Regions from separate parts of the Homo sapiens genome. Here regions 2, 3 and 4 are each linked to region 1. Evidence: promoter capture Hi-C in 16 types of primary human blood cells and fetal thymus (Javierre and others, 2016). All regions are on one chromosome and are shown on one strand. Each heading gives the region's core, a stretch centred on a gene start or on the middle of the fragment in contact. The rest is flanking DNA. Distances are from core to core; before and after follow the strand shown.

The links. Contacts are between HindIII fragments. The CHiCAGO score rates a contact against its expected background, and 5 or more counts as called.
Region 2: a contact is called between a fragment that was not itself captured here and the fragment with the promoter of LRRC8C in region 1, in 1 of 17 cell types (M0 macrophages). The highest score is 5.3, in M0 macrophages.
Region 3: a fragment that was not itself captured here is called in contact with the fragment with the promoter of LRRC8C in region 1 in 14 of 17 cell types (erythroblasts, megakaryocytes, naive CD4 T cells and 11 more); the score reaches 11.6 in erythroblasts.
Region 4: a fragment that was not itself captured here is called in contact with the fragment with the promoter of LRRC8C in region 1 in 1 of 17 cell types (erythroblasts); the score reaches 6.1 in erythroblasts.

Annotation. Positions count from the first base shown.
Region 1 is chr1:89,631,470-89,634,617 of GRCh38, reverse strand. It overlaps LRRC8C (leucine rich repeat containing 8 VRAC subunit C), which reads right to left and starts at 1,498. Exons shown (of 3, transcript NM_032270.5): 1 at 1,296-1,498. It overlaps LRRC8C-DT (LRRC8C divergent transcript), which reads left to right and starts at 1,724. Exons shown (of 3, transcript NR_033981.1): 1 at 1,724-1,961; 2 at 2,409-2,602. RefSeq lists enhancers at 527-576, 607-656 and a silencer at 1,037-1,696. The HindIII fragment of the contact is 6,667 bases long and covers 1-3,148 here.
Region 2 is chr1:89,936,476-89,940,130 of GRCh38, reverse strand. LRRC8D (leucine rich repeat containing 8 VRAC subunit D) reads right to left here. Exons shown (of 3, transcript NM_001134479.2): 3 at 3,520-3,655. Among named protein-coding and RNA genes, the nearest start is that of ZNF326, 57 kb to the left of the region's middle. The HindIII fragment of the contact is 1,474 bases long and covers 1,475-2,948 here.
Region 3 is chr1:89,962,537-89,966,008 of GRCh38, reverse strand. It overlaps LOC105378847 (a long non-coding RNA gene), which reads right to left and starts at 852. Exons shown (of 3, transcript XR_001738142.2): 1 at 1-852. The HindIII fragment of the contact is 3,221 bases long and covers 324-3,472 here.
Region 4 is chr1:90,010,670-90,013,864 of GRCh38, reverse strand. ZNF326 (zinc finger protein 326) reads right to left here. Exons shown (of 12, transcript NM_182976.4): 7 at 628-739. Among named protein-coding and RNA genes, the nearest start is that of ZNF326, 17 kb to the right of the region's middle. The HindIII fragment of the contact is 9,650 bases long and covers 1-3,195 here.

The sequences.
Region 1 (3,148 bases), core at 249-2,748:
GCTCTGGCGATTTTGCAGCATTGTGCTAACCAAGAGGACTACTCCACTTTTACTCCTTTTTCGTCTAAATGGCATCTTAATGACCTGCCCACGCTGAAGCCTCATCGATGCTTTGGGAAACCATCACATACCTGTCGGGAAATGTGACTGTTGGTTAAGGCTACGTTTCTCACACTACCGCGAAAGAAGTATGTGACTTACAAACGGCTGCGATTTCCTTTACCTATTCCTTCCTTCAAAGGCTGCTTTAAATGGAGGTAATTCAAGCCTCCCCGTGCCAAACACCGGCACTCCAACAAAGATGGATTGGTTCTTATTTTTTACTTTGAGGATGGGAACCTGAAAATGTTTCCTAACGTTTGCTGAGGCTTTAACATGTTTAAGGAATTTGAAACCAAGGGAAGTTTAGCCGTAATACTCTGAAATATCCGCATTAGGATGCGGGCTAGGTGTCCGGCTGTTGCAAAACTACGGAGGATGCGAGGTTTGGAAGAAACTGTTTGGACTTTGCTGTATACCGGGCAGGCGTGGGGGTTGGGGAGGGAAGAACCGGCTGAGGGAGAAAAGAAAGGCATTCGTGTCCACAGAACACATCTAAGGCTCCTGAGTTGCTAACTCCATCCCTAATCATCTCATTGGTGGGAACCAGCTGGAAAGGGAAAGATCAGCGAGCCTAGGCGTGGGATGAAGGCAGCGGTTTTGGCCTCAACCGCTGGCCTAAACACCTGGCTTCTGGGGCCCGCCCGATCAAGCTGAACCCCTTCCCTCCTGTCCTGCAGGTGAGCACACGGTGCTCTCACGTTTCTTCGAGAAACCTTCCAATTCCTTTCCCTGCCCAAAAGTGCTAACTTCAAGGGTTCGGAGGTGGCAGGGGGGTGATAGACCGGAAAGGACTGGCCCCGGGGTCTCAGAGATTTTCGAGGTAGGAAAGAACAACGATCGCCCCGGCCACGGACGCATTTCCCCTCGCGGACCGCCCCCCCACCCCCGCGCCCAGTCTGCAGGACCTGCCGCTGCGGCGCGGCGTTGGGCGCCAGGCTGAGATCCTCGCGCGGCCGCTCGGGCTAGCGCGGATTGGGTGGGGTAGGGGTTGGCGGGCTCCTGAGCCGCAGTAGCGGAAGGTTCCCAGCACCACACGCCGGGCGGGCAACCACATTCTGCCTGTCTGAGAGCCGGGGGGAAGCAAGGACGCGAGTGAGGCGGGGCGAGTCCCGGTCCGGCGCGCACAGCGGACCGAGCGGGTGGCCCTCTGCGGGCTGCCCCTCTCCATCCCTCCGCGGATCCCCCGCCCTTACCTCCGGGCGCGAGAGTGTCGACTGGAGAAGGTGCTAGGGAGCGGCGAGCTGCCTGGGGGTCGGGCTCAGCGGCTGCCAGGGACGGCGGCGTCGCCCGCGGGGTCGCTGCTCATGGCTTGTCGCGCCCGAGCACTGCGGCCGCGGCCACGGCGGCGCCTTCCTCCTACTTCTCTTCGCGGGCTTCCAGCCGGGACGCAGCTAACGCCCCAGCCCCGCAAGCCCTCCTCCCCTCCGCCTCCCCGGCCGCGGACGGAGCCGCCTCCAGCGCCGCCCCGCACGCAGCCCGGCTAGCGGCAGCCAGCGCCGCCCAGCGCCCGGCCCCGGGGTCGCCACCGCCCGCCGAGTCGACTCCGCGGTGCCAGCCCCGCTGTGACGCAGGCCGCGCCGCCCGGGAACTTCCTCCCCTGCAGAGACCACCTCGCTCCCGGGACTCGCCAGCGAGGGATGCCGCCGGCCGCCGGGGGCCTTCTCCAGGACCAGGAGAGAAATCCTCTCTCCGCTTCACGACGCGGCCACTCCCACCCCTGAGACGCCCACCTGGCGGACTCTGAGGGAGGATTCGGCTGCGTCTAATACCACCTCCACCCCTCATCCCTCACAATGCGCGGAAAACCACAGGCGGCTGTGCGCGCAGCGTCGGCTCAGCCACCGCAGCTCCTCCCCTGGGTAAGTTAGAGGGGAGCAGCCACCACTAAAAATAGCCCTTCTGGGAACTCCTCCGAAGGCCAGGGTCAGGATGAAGATAACCCCTCCACAGGAGAAGCGAAGGCCTCCTAAGAGAAGGGTGGGGAGGGGACGGTGGGATAGAATGAGGAAGATGGAGAAGGAGAAAAGCAAAACCCAATATCCTTGGATCATGAAGCCCTTGAGCCCCTTGACAACCAAGTCTCCTTTCAGGCCGGAATCCCCAACTGCACCGCCCCTGCAATACGGGCTAAGGGGCAGATTCCAGGGAGACTCAGTTGGAATGCCCCGCCTACAGCTCCCGCATAAAGGAGTTGACGGTGCACAGCAAAACCACCTGTTGTTTAACGAGTATGGAGGGAGGGGTTCTCTCTCATTGATTGATCTGAACCGTGCTTTTCTTCTCCCCATTTTCCCACCCAATTTCAGGATGAAAAAGCACTCTGACGTCTTGAAAGCTGGCAGCTCTCTGTTTGGAAAATCTCTGCCCAGTGAAAAAATGTACCGACAAGATTACTAAGTAACACAGTCTTCTGGGAATGCCTTATCAATGCCAGCTATTTGAAGAGCACCCAAAGTCAAACTAGTGCTCCGCGCTGGCAGTCTGGAAAAGGCAGATGTATGTGAGTAGAGAAACTGATAGACAACTAGTTGCTGGCCAGTTGGCCTGTTTTCGTGCTACAAGCCTTCAGAAAACAGTCGCCTCCTTTTACCACGTTTCTATTTCTAAACCAAAATGAAAAGGACGTTTGTTCAAAAGATATTCTCTTGGGCTTTACATTGCTTTCCCCCTGCTCACTCAGCAAAATCCTACACTTTTTTTCCAATTCCAATGCTGCTGTTGGGTGTCCTTCCCAGAAGACAACCTTAAATTCTCTTAGGCCTTAGGAGCTGAATCTAACACCAGTCTTAATTAACCTACAACAAGACAAAAATTTAGGTCCGGGCTTACCTCCTAGTCAGCAGATGGGAAAAATTCCTAGAGAGTCTCTGGGAAAAAGGCAAAGGCTAACTTTAGCAGTTTGCTAGAAAAAAAAAAATTCAAGTACCTTGTAAGTCACCAGGGTAGATGCAGCAATACTCTCTAAGGTAGCTTTACCTCTTCAATTCTCTTACCTTACCTGAATTTAAACACAGTGAGGCAAGTACCAAGGTCACAACCCTCCTGT
Region 2 (3,655 bases), core at 962-3,461, 300 kb before region 1:
ATTTTATTGTGTTCCAGGTGTCCACTGAAAATTCCATTACCAAGGAAGGAGACAATGCATATTAGGGAAGGCCAACAGTCTCTGGGGATAAAAGTAACAATAGTATTATTGCGTACTTACTATCTGCCAGGCACAGTGCCTCAAATGAATCGCCTCATTCAATTGTCACACACAATAAAACCCATTTGGTAGGCATTATGACTATTCCCATTTACAGTAAAAAAACTGAGGCTTAGGTAAGTAGCTTCCGCACAGTCACACAGCTGGGGCCAAGGCAGGATGCAAATCCAGGCACTGTCACTCCAGAGCCTGGAATCTTAGGAGTGAAGGAAGGACAGCTTACAGTGGCAGTAGGTGGGGCTGGGGAAGTTTCTACCATCAGGGGTCCCACAGCAGTAGGAGGGGGTGGATGAGACTATGGGATGAAACTTTTCAGGATTAACTCTCAGCAAATAATCCCATGAATTTCCACAAGAAAGGTGATGCTTACCTGGAACAGTTTATACATTTTATGTCCAGAGACACAAGGATGAAGAATGGACATCTGCTATTGGCTTTGTGAGTGAAGGGACTTATTTCCATGATTTCAGCTGTGACTGTCACCCCAGGATAGGCTAGGCCAGGCCTGAGAGGCAGATGGTTCCTGGCCTGCTGCCCTTCTGCCCCCTTGGCTTCAGCCTTCCCTGTGCCCCAGTGGATACCGCCTTGAATACCCGGAGCCTTTAAGAGAGCCGCAGCTGGCCAGGATCAGAGGGGGCCACTTCTTCGTGTTGCAGTCACAAGTTAGAGGACTTTTGAAAACTGGTTTCCAGGGGCTTGCTCTTTTTTCCCCCCTTCTTTTTTTCATGAAAGGAGCTTTTTGTTAGTACAGCCTTTGTTTGGGGATTCAGTTGATAAAGGGACCATTTTATTGGAATGAATTACTGACGCAAGTGCTGGCAGAAATCTTAGCGAGAGGACAGCACTCTGGCTTTTATTCAACAAGGTGAATGGAAATAACTATTGGGCGTTGGCCTCAAGGGCACTTTGGAGTTTGCTGCCATCAGCAACTTATAGAGTTTTGGTTACTGGTTGAAGTAGAGACCAGGGGAGACAGAGAAAGTATTACGGATTAAGAAAGAATATGCTTTCTTTCTTTATATTAAAAAAATGTCAAACAGTCAGGACTTTGCTGGCCATGAATTATAGAATGAACTCTTCCTGCCTACTATTAAATTACTAAATCTGTACTACTAAGAATGAGGTCCCTGTGACAATTTTGGCTCATCTTTCTGAACCCTTGAAAGAGCCAATCCTGTCACGCCAACTAACTGCTAGTGAGAAAAAATTAAACAGCCACAAGGAAACCAAGTTCTTTCAGACTTTGAGAGACTCACCCAGACATGGCATATTTAAAAACAGACTTTAAATACTCTTCTTCAGATTGGTGCTCAACGGACTTCGTAGAAAGATATGAAAATATTAAGCCAAAGCTTATACATACTAACTTGTTTTTCTCCCATGTCTGGTCCATGCGATGCCAACATAAATTCACGAGGACACATAGGTTGACAGTCTATTTGGGCCCACAACTCTTTTTCTGTTGTTGAGGTGTCAAAACCCAGTATATTTAAAGTCTGTTGCATGAGTCAGCATTTCTCAGGAACTCTCTGAGTATTCCTATTTGCAAACAGTGGTATGGAATGTGACATTTAAACCAACTGACCGTGAACTTTTCAGAGTTCAAGGAAATTAGTAAGGGCTGATAGTCAACAGAAATTTGGGTAAAAGAGGTACCCCTTGATACTGTTTGAAGGCATCTAACACCAACCAGTTCTAAGTGACTGAACCCCAAGTAGTGTTTAGGAAACAGGAGCCTATGGGCAGGGCTGCCAGTGGCCAAACTTAGGGATTATCTCATAGATTGTGGTTCCTACAGAATGGCTCTTCTCTGAAAAGCAAAGTGAACTGTGGCATCCTGCCACCCCTGCCCTTCAAAAACAACATACACTTGTTTTAAGAAAGGCAGCTCATTGAGATGTAGTTTGCTACCATATTTAAGGTACATATGTAAAGGCCTTACAGATGTAGGGCCTTCTATATGCCAATTATACTTCAATAAGGTGTTTTGTTTTGTTTTGTTTAAAAAAGGGAAGACAAGTTTTCCAGTCCTAAAAGCAAAGATCCTAAGATCTGGACTCCTTATCTCACAACTAAGATGGAGTGGCATCCTTCTAAAAATACTGTGCTAATTTCAGGTGGTGGCATTACCAAGCAGGGAGAACAGTGCCCTACAAGGCTGGTGGAAGGGAAATGTTCAGGACCGTTTACAACTACAAAACTTCCCTGAAGCTCTTCTTTAAGTTCACTCCACCCCTGCCATTATTCATTTACACAGATTTTGTACACTTTTTGTTTGTTTGAGGCAAGGTCTTGCTCTGTCACCAGGTTGGAGTACAATGGCACAATCATAACTCACTGCAGCCTCATACTCCTGAGCCCAAGTGATCCTCCCACCTCAGCCTCCCAAGTAGCTGGGACTACAAGTGCATGCTAACATGCCCAGCTAATTTTTAAAATTTTTTGTAGAGATGGGGTCTTGCTATGTTGCCCAGGCTGGTCTCAAACTCCCAGGCTCAAGCCATCCTCCTGCCTCAGCCTCTCAAAGTGCTGGGATTATAGGTGTGAGCCACTGCACCTGACCTACACCATCTATAATTGTAATTAAACACTTCTATTATTTACATAATTAATATTTATCTCTCTACTTTGCTATATAAACCTCCATGTAGCCAGAACTTATTCCAACACTGAATCCCTACTTCCTTGTATTAGATAGGCACCAGGGTACATCATTAACACTAGTGAATACATTAATGAATGCTGAGACAACTGGAAGATGCATAGAAAAGAATTTGCTGTACTGAAAATATGCCACTGCTTTTTGTCTGATTATTCAAACTTAAGCTTAAAAATGTTTAATAAGCTAGTCCCCTACCTCAAGCCTTTGAGGAGGAGAAGGAATGGCCAGGGTGCCAGAGCCAGCGTCAATTCCTGACTCAGCTACAGGGGATGCAGCCTTTTCTATTTGTGATAATACTTCTCAGAGCATTCACAGGCTCTATGGCAGGCAAAGATTCACCTCCATTGGCCACAGACCAGGACTCCCAGAGTTCAGTTCTGGGGAGGAAAGCAAAGATATGAGTCCATCTTTGCCCATTATCAGCAAAATCCTTCAAGCTGTGCTTAGAAGTGACAAAAGTCCAGTGTTTAAGTGAGTCCAGTTTTGTAGCGAGAGGACACTACTTTGTCAGAGTGCCAAACTGTTCTATTCTCTTGAAGAGTCCTGTAGAAGGCCTATGAAACATCTGCCAACTAATATCTAAACAGGTGGCAGGGAATTTTTTGGATTTTTCTGAGATTGATTAGATACTGGTCAGTTAGATAATGAAGGAAATCATTATCTAAAAAGTGTATTCTCCTAGGATTTGTCTGGCTATGACGCCTAGCTGCACAAAAACACAGAAAATACAGCTTGTCATTAAGATAGGGAAAGGTAAGAGTTTCCCTACCCAATGAACTACATTTCCTATTATTTTCCCACCAACACCAGAACAACACTGAAAAGGGCAAGAAATTAAATGATACTTGTGATTCTGTGTTATCTTCCAAATGG
Region 3 (3,472 bases), core at 685-3,184, 330 kb before region 1:
TAACAATTTCATCCTGTGCTTTGGGAGAGATGGAGGATTAAGAGACGGGGTGCAGGGAGGTCAGAGAGAATTTTGAGGCTGCTTCCTCCATTCAGCATGTCAAAGCACCATATTTTGGAGTAGCCTTTTCTGAGCCCAACAGCTGCTAATCCAGCATCTGAAGAAACAGGACTGTTGAACATGAACTTCTGTTATTTATCAGTATTTCAGCCAGGCTAGGCTGGGCTACACTGCAGTTACAAGTAAATTCAAAATTTCCATGACTTAAACTTGAAGATATAGTTCTTATTCATTATACTCTCTATCATTGTCTGCTAGAAGCTTTATTCCACACCATTGTCATCCTTACTCCAGACCTGGGGCTGACAGAGCGACCACTATAGGAATATTGCTGGTTGCCATGACAACAAAAAGATAAGATGGTGAAGCATCTTGACTTTTACAGCTTCCACATACATTTCATTGGCCAAGTCACATGGCAGTGCCTCCAAGTATGGGGGAAATTACGATCCACCATATGTCAGGAAGGAAAGAGAACAAGAATGTTTGTGAACAGCCCTAATGACCACTGTAGTTAGGGAGCAAAGATTTCAAAAGATTTAATTATCTCTTTTCCCAGAGAAAGACTTGACGTGAATTAGCTTGTTGAGAATTGGCAGGTTACCAAGGATATGTTTTTCTTTTCTTGATGAAAATAAATTATTGGCAAATAGTCCTGCTGAGTTGTTGTACTTTTTGCAATGTTTTCCGTTGCCATGGCCCACTGCTGAATTTAACCACCCTAGGTTAATTTCAGTAGCTTTCTTTATTAGAGTTGGGAAGATTGTCTTTTCCTCACCTGTGGGTCTCTTCCTCTCTCCAATGTAATAAAAGTGTATCACTTTTTTTTTTTTTTTTTTTTTTTTTGAGACCGAGTCTCACTCTGTCGCCCAGGCTGGAGTGCAGTGGTGCCATCTCGGCTCACTGCAAGCTCCGCCTCCCGGGTTCACACCATTCTCCTGCCTCAGCCTCCCGAGTAGCTGGAACTACAGGCGCCTGCCACCATTATACTTTTCCTACTCACATTTTAAAGCCCCAAATTTCTGATGGCACCAAAAACAGAACTCTTGATTAGAAATGATGGGTTTGGAACGTCCAAGGTCTTTATGTATATTTTCCACTGAGTTGATTCTCTTTTCTTGTAACTCATAAGTGCTGGAAAATGTTGCTTCCTTTTCCATTTTTAATATTGAGGTGCTTCTCAGATGGTTCTTCTGTAGGGAACCTTCCTAAAACTCATGGGGTATGTCAATTATCTACTGCCACATAACAAATTACCCTAAATCTCAGTAGTGTAAAAGAATGATGGACAGCTGGGCGTGGTGGCTCACGGTTGTAATCCCAACACTTTGGGAGGCCAAGGTGGGCGGATCACTTGAGGTCAGGAGTTCGAGACCAGTCTGGCCAACATGGTAAAACCCTGTCTCTACTAAAAATACATAAATTAGCTGGGTGTGGTGGTCTGTGCCTGTAATCCCAGCTACTCAGGAGGCCGAGACAGGAGAATCACTTGAAACGGGAGGCAGAGGCTACAGTGAGCTGAGATCTCACCACTGCACTCCAGCCTGGGTGACAGAGCGAGACTCTGTCTCAAAAAAAAAAAAAGAAAAAGAAAAAGAAAAGAAAGAAAAAGAATGATGGACATTACTATTTCTCACAGTCGCTGAGGTTCAGGAATTTTGAAACAACCTAGCTGATAGTTTTCGCTTGGAGTCTCTCATGAGGCTGCAGTCAAGATGTTAGCTAGGGCTGCGGTCATCTGAAGGCTTGACAGAGGCTGGAGGACAACTCATGCACATGCTGGAGAGTGCTGACTGCTAACAGGAGATCCCAGTTCCTCCCAGCTTGTGGCTTCTGTAGGGCTGTTTGAGGGTCCTTTTCCCCAAGGAAGTGATGCAAGAACAGCAAAGACAGCTGCAGTGCTTTTTAAGACTAAAACTCAAAGTCACATACTGTCACTTCTACAGTATTCTGTTGCTTATGCAGAATGCATGGGCAGCATGGGAGGGCATTATACAGGGATGTGGTCACCAGGAGGCAAGGATCACTGGAGGCCATCTTAGATGCTGGCTATCACAAAAGTAGGGCAAGAATTCTCTCAATTCCCTTGAAGTCTACCCCAAATATAAACATAAGAATTACAAGGTAAGTTCTATGAAGGCAAGGATTTTTTTTTTTTTTTTCGAGACAGTCTTACACTGTTGCCGAGGCTGGAGTGCAGTGGTGTGATCTCAGCTCACTGCAACCTCCGCCTCCCAGGTTCAGGCAATTCTCCTTGCCTCAGCCTCCCAAATAGCTGGGATTACAGGTGCCCGCCACCACGCCCAGCTAATTTCTTTGTAGTTTAGTAGAGATGGGGTTTCACTATGTTGACCAGGTTGGTCTCGAGCTCCTGACCTCGTGATCCACCCACCTTGGTCTCCCAGAATGCTGGGATTACAGTCGTGAGCCACCATGCCTGGCCAAGGATTTTTTTTTTTTAATCTTTGTTCACTGCTTAGTACTTTGGACATTGCCTAGCACATAATAGCTTCTCAATAAATGTTTTTGCAATGAATAGGTAAGAAAAATCAAGAAAACTTTTTAAAAATCTCTCAGTTAAACATTACAAATACTGTTTTTCAGCTTCAAATAAGGTATATAAATGTCTTGGAAATGTGGTAGTGTCATCACACTGTAGATAGCCAACAAACATTGAGAAAATAGTAAGACTTGCCAAGTTCCCTCCAAATTGGTGTTTAGAAGTGTGATTTTATTAGGGAGGCAATGTAGCACAGTGAATAGATGCAAAAAAACTGAGATTTTTGTCTAGGTTCTACCACCAGTTAGCTTCGTGAATTTAAGCAAGACAGCCTCATTCTTCCTACTTACAAAACCAGAGACTTGTATTAAATGATATTAAAGGCACTTCTAGCATGAACATTCGGATATTGTTTATTTGATCTCAACTTGAATTTTGCCATACACTTAAAACTAGGCCTATAAGACAATTTCTGATGTAATCTATTTATTGGATAGTTCTTTCATGTGCATCAGGCTTCAGTCTAAAATGTGTGCATAGGTTTGGGTTTATTTCAAGACTGTGGGGTGAGTCACTAAGTCTATGTGTATAAAGATTCTAGAAGTCCCTTGGGAAATAATTTACTCTAATGGAAGTGACAATTTGGTTCAAAAACAGTGTCTCAAGAATTGGAAGGGAAAGGCAATTTTTAAAATAGCTCCATGTCTACCTATCAAATTATCTGATTTCATAGCCCCCATTTGCTCATGTTTGAGTACCCAAGAGATGGGGCTGGAAGTAAAATGGATGCATTAAAATCTACAGTAATTTGACACAGATAACTTTTTCATGTGTTATTTATAGCTGAACACAGTACTCTAAGAGTGGTCTAACCACAGGAAGAGAATGCAAACACTTTTCTATTTGGAACAG
Region 4 (3,195 bases), core at 487-2,986, 380 kb before region 1:
GTCTTGATCTCCTGACCTCGTGATCTGCCCGCCTCGGCCTCCCAAAGTGCTGGGATTACAGGCATGAGCCACTGTGCCTAGCCCAATTCCCCTCTTATTTCTAATATCCTCTTTATTAAATATTACATTCTTCCTTACAGTCTGTTCACAGGCTAATCTGGTATAATAATTAGCTTTGTGTATTACCACATATTTTTAACTATTATAGCTTTTTAATGATTGATTATCTATAAAAGCCAGTACCTACTCATTTACTCTTCTTCAGAATTTCCTTTGGGATCTGGATTGGAAAGAACTTACATATTTGTAATATTTAATTCCTGCCCATGAAAATCACTATGACTCCATACAGTCAAATCTCAATGACAAGTGTTTCTTTTTAAGAATACTGTTATTTCTGAATATTTGATATCTTTTGGATTGCCAATATGAATAGAATGCCTTTTTTCTTATGTTTTCTAAGTAGTGATTACATATAAATATCAAAAACCAAAAGCATTCCTCTGTATCTTTGAACAAGTCTTTTCATTTGAATCTTAAGAACTTTTTAATATTACAATTGATGTGTTGGCTTTTTCTAGGAAATCATTTTTTAATGAACCTAATTTTCTGACTCTAAGTACAAACCTGTATCCATCTCCGTATTTCTCACTGTTTTTTTCTCTTCTGCGCCTTTGTTTCTCTCGCCGAGCCTCAATTCGCCGCTTTTCTTCCTCTTCATTTTTAGGATCAGTTTTTGCTAGGATATTACACAAAAAAGTAAAAGCTAAAATTCATTTTTCCATTCTCTCTTTCCAATCATCAGTTCGTAAAGTACATACTTATGAGGTATACTTAGTGATTGTAATCTAAAATTGAACTCACCAAAAAAATCGGAGTTTGAGACTATCCAGTATTTCTGAAACTTCACTAAATGAACTTCATTCATTTGAATACCATCATCATGAATTCTGTCATATCTGCTTGTCATCTATGTGATTATTTGCTACATATTTTTCTTTAAATGTGCTCATTTGTCCTATCCTTATTCTAAGCAATAATATCCTTATCACCTAAAATCATCTTGGGCATCACATACTTTGGGAAAAACACTAAAGTAACCTGACCGAGCATGAAAATGGAAGTCCAGTAAACACTGCAGAGCCCTGGATGCAAGAACTCATGTTCATATTGTAGGAGCTCTCAGAAAGTTTCTTAAAATTTGTAACCTCCAAAATAAAAGCAAATTTGTTCTCTTTTTTAAAAAATATTCTCTATTGTGATAAAATACACAAAACATAAGATTTACTAGTTTAACCATTTTAAAATGTGCAATTCAATGGCATTAAGTACATTCACAAAGTTACGCAACCATCTCCACTATCTAGTTACAGAACTGTTCATCATCCCATAAAGCAGTCACTCCCCATTTCAACCCTACCCTAAGGCCCTGGTAACCACTAATCTGCTTTCTGATCTACGGATTTGCCTATTCTAAGTATTTCATATACCTAGAATCATCCTGTCTGTTGCCTTTTTGGTCTGACTTTTATTTAGCATGTTTTCACAGTTCACCCATGTTGTACCATGTATTAGTAAGTACTTCCTTTTTTATGGTTTAATAATATTCCATTGTATGAATAACCCACATTTTTTAAACCATTCTTCTGTTGATGTATATTTCAATTGTTTCTACCTTTTGGCAATTATGAATAATGCTACTATAAACATTCATATATAAATTTTTGTTTGGACCAGGCACAGTGGCTCATGCCTGTAATCTTAGCACTTTGGAAGGCTGAGGCGGATGGATCACTTGAGGCCAGGGGTTCAAGACAGCCTGGCCAACATGGCGAAACCATCTCTACTCAAGATACAACAATTAGCTGGGCGTGGTGGTGCACATCTGTAGTCCCAGCTACTCAGGAGGCTGAGGAACGAGAATCGCTTGAACCCAGGGGCAGAGGTTGCAGTGAGCCAAGACTGCACCACTGCACTCCAGCCTGGGCAACAGAGTAAGATCCTGTCTCAAAAATAAAAATAAATAAATAAATAAATTTTTGTTGGAATACTACTTTAAATTCTTTGGAATAGAAGAATACCTAGAAGTGGAATTGCTGGATCATATGGACAGTCTATGTTTAATTGTTTCAGGAAGCACCAATCTGCTTCCCACAGTGGCTTCACTGCTTTACATTCCCATCAGTAATGTGTGAGGGTTTCAATTTCTCCATATCCTTGTCAACATTTGTTATTTTCCTTTTTTTATTATGACCATCCAAGTGGGTATGGAGTGGTAACTCACTGTGAGCAGGTTCTTTCTTATAATACATTTAACTTTATACTTAAAAAAAAAAAAAAAAAAAAAACTTAACTATTTGCCCTTAAATTTTTCCTTTTATGCACTGCTTATCCTTTTGGATGGCCTTTGAAAAATCTACTTATTTATATATTACCTCAAATAAGTAATTTAATCTTCCTTTCATATGCTAAAACTATGACATGTTGTACTTCTAGCCAAGTGACAGAATAGGGTTCCTTTCCTACTAATTTTCTATAAAGTCACATAGTCTATACTATAGCATAGCAAGACCTTGTATTGAGGAAAATTCAGCAATCATCTTTTTAAATGCCCATTTTACACCTGACAGAGAAGGCATAATTTAAAGAATTTTAGTTTCATTCTTAGCTACACAACACTTTTCTCAAGTTTTGTTATATAAAAAGGGGGTATGGGGGAGGGATACATATATATCTGCTTTAAGGGCAAATCAGTTTCTTTATCAAACTTTTGCAATATTTAACCATACGTGCAAAATATATCTTTGAAATAGGTCCCAAGAGAATCAACTGAATTTTCTATTATAGTAATGTCTAATAAAATGTCAAATTTGATACATAACAGTCTATCAATTGACACACTGTTAAAGGTATCCCCACAACACATACTCTGCTTAGTATCAGGTTTCCAGAACTCCAGAAATTCCAGAATATTGTTTCTTATTAAACAATAAGGCCTGATGAGAAAGTAATTTAAGTACACCTTTTAAACCTTTTTCAAATTTTATATTATAGAAAATATATTTTGAGGAAAGAATCTAACATTGCAATTTCAGTTTTTTCAAATATTACATATTAAAATGTCTATAATGTCATAATTAGGGAAAAAGTTATTTTAAAATAAAAGGGAAAAATGAATACAAAGCAAATTTCTGT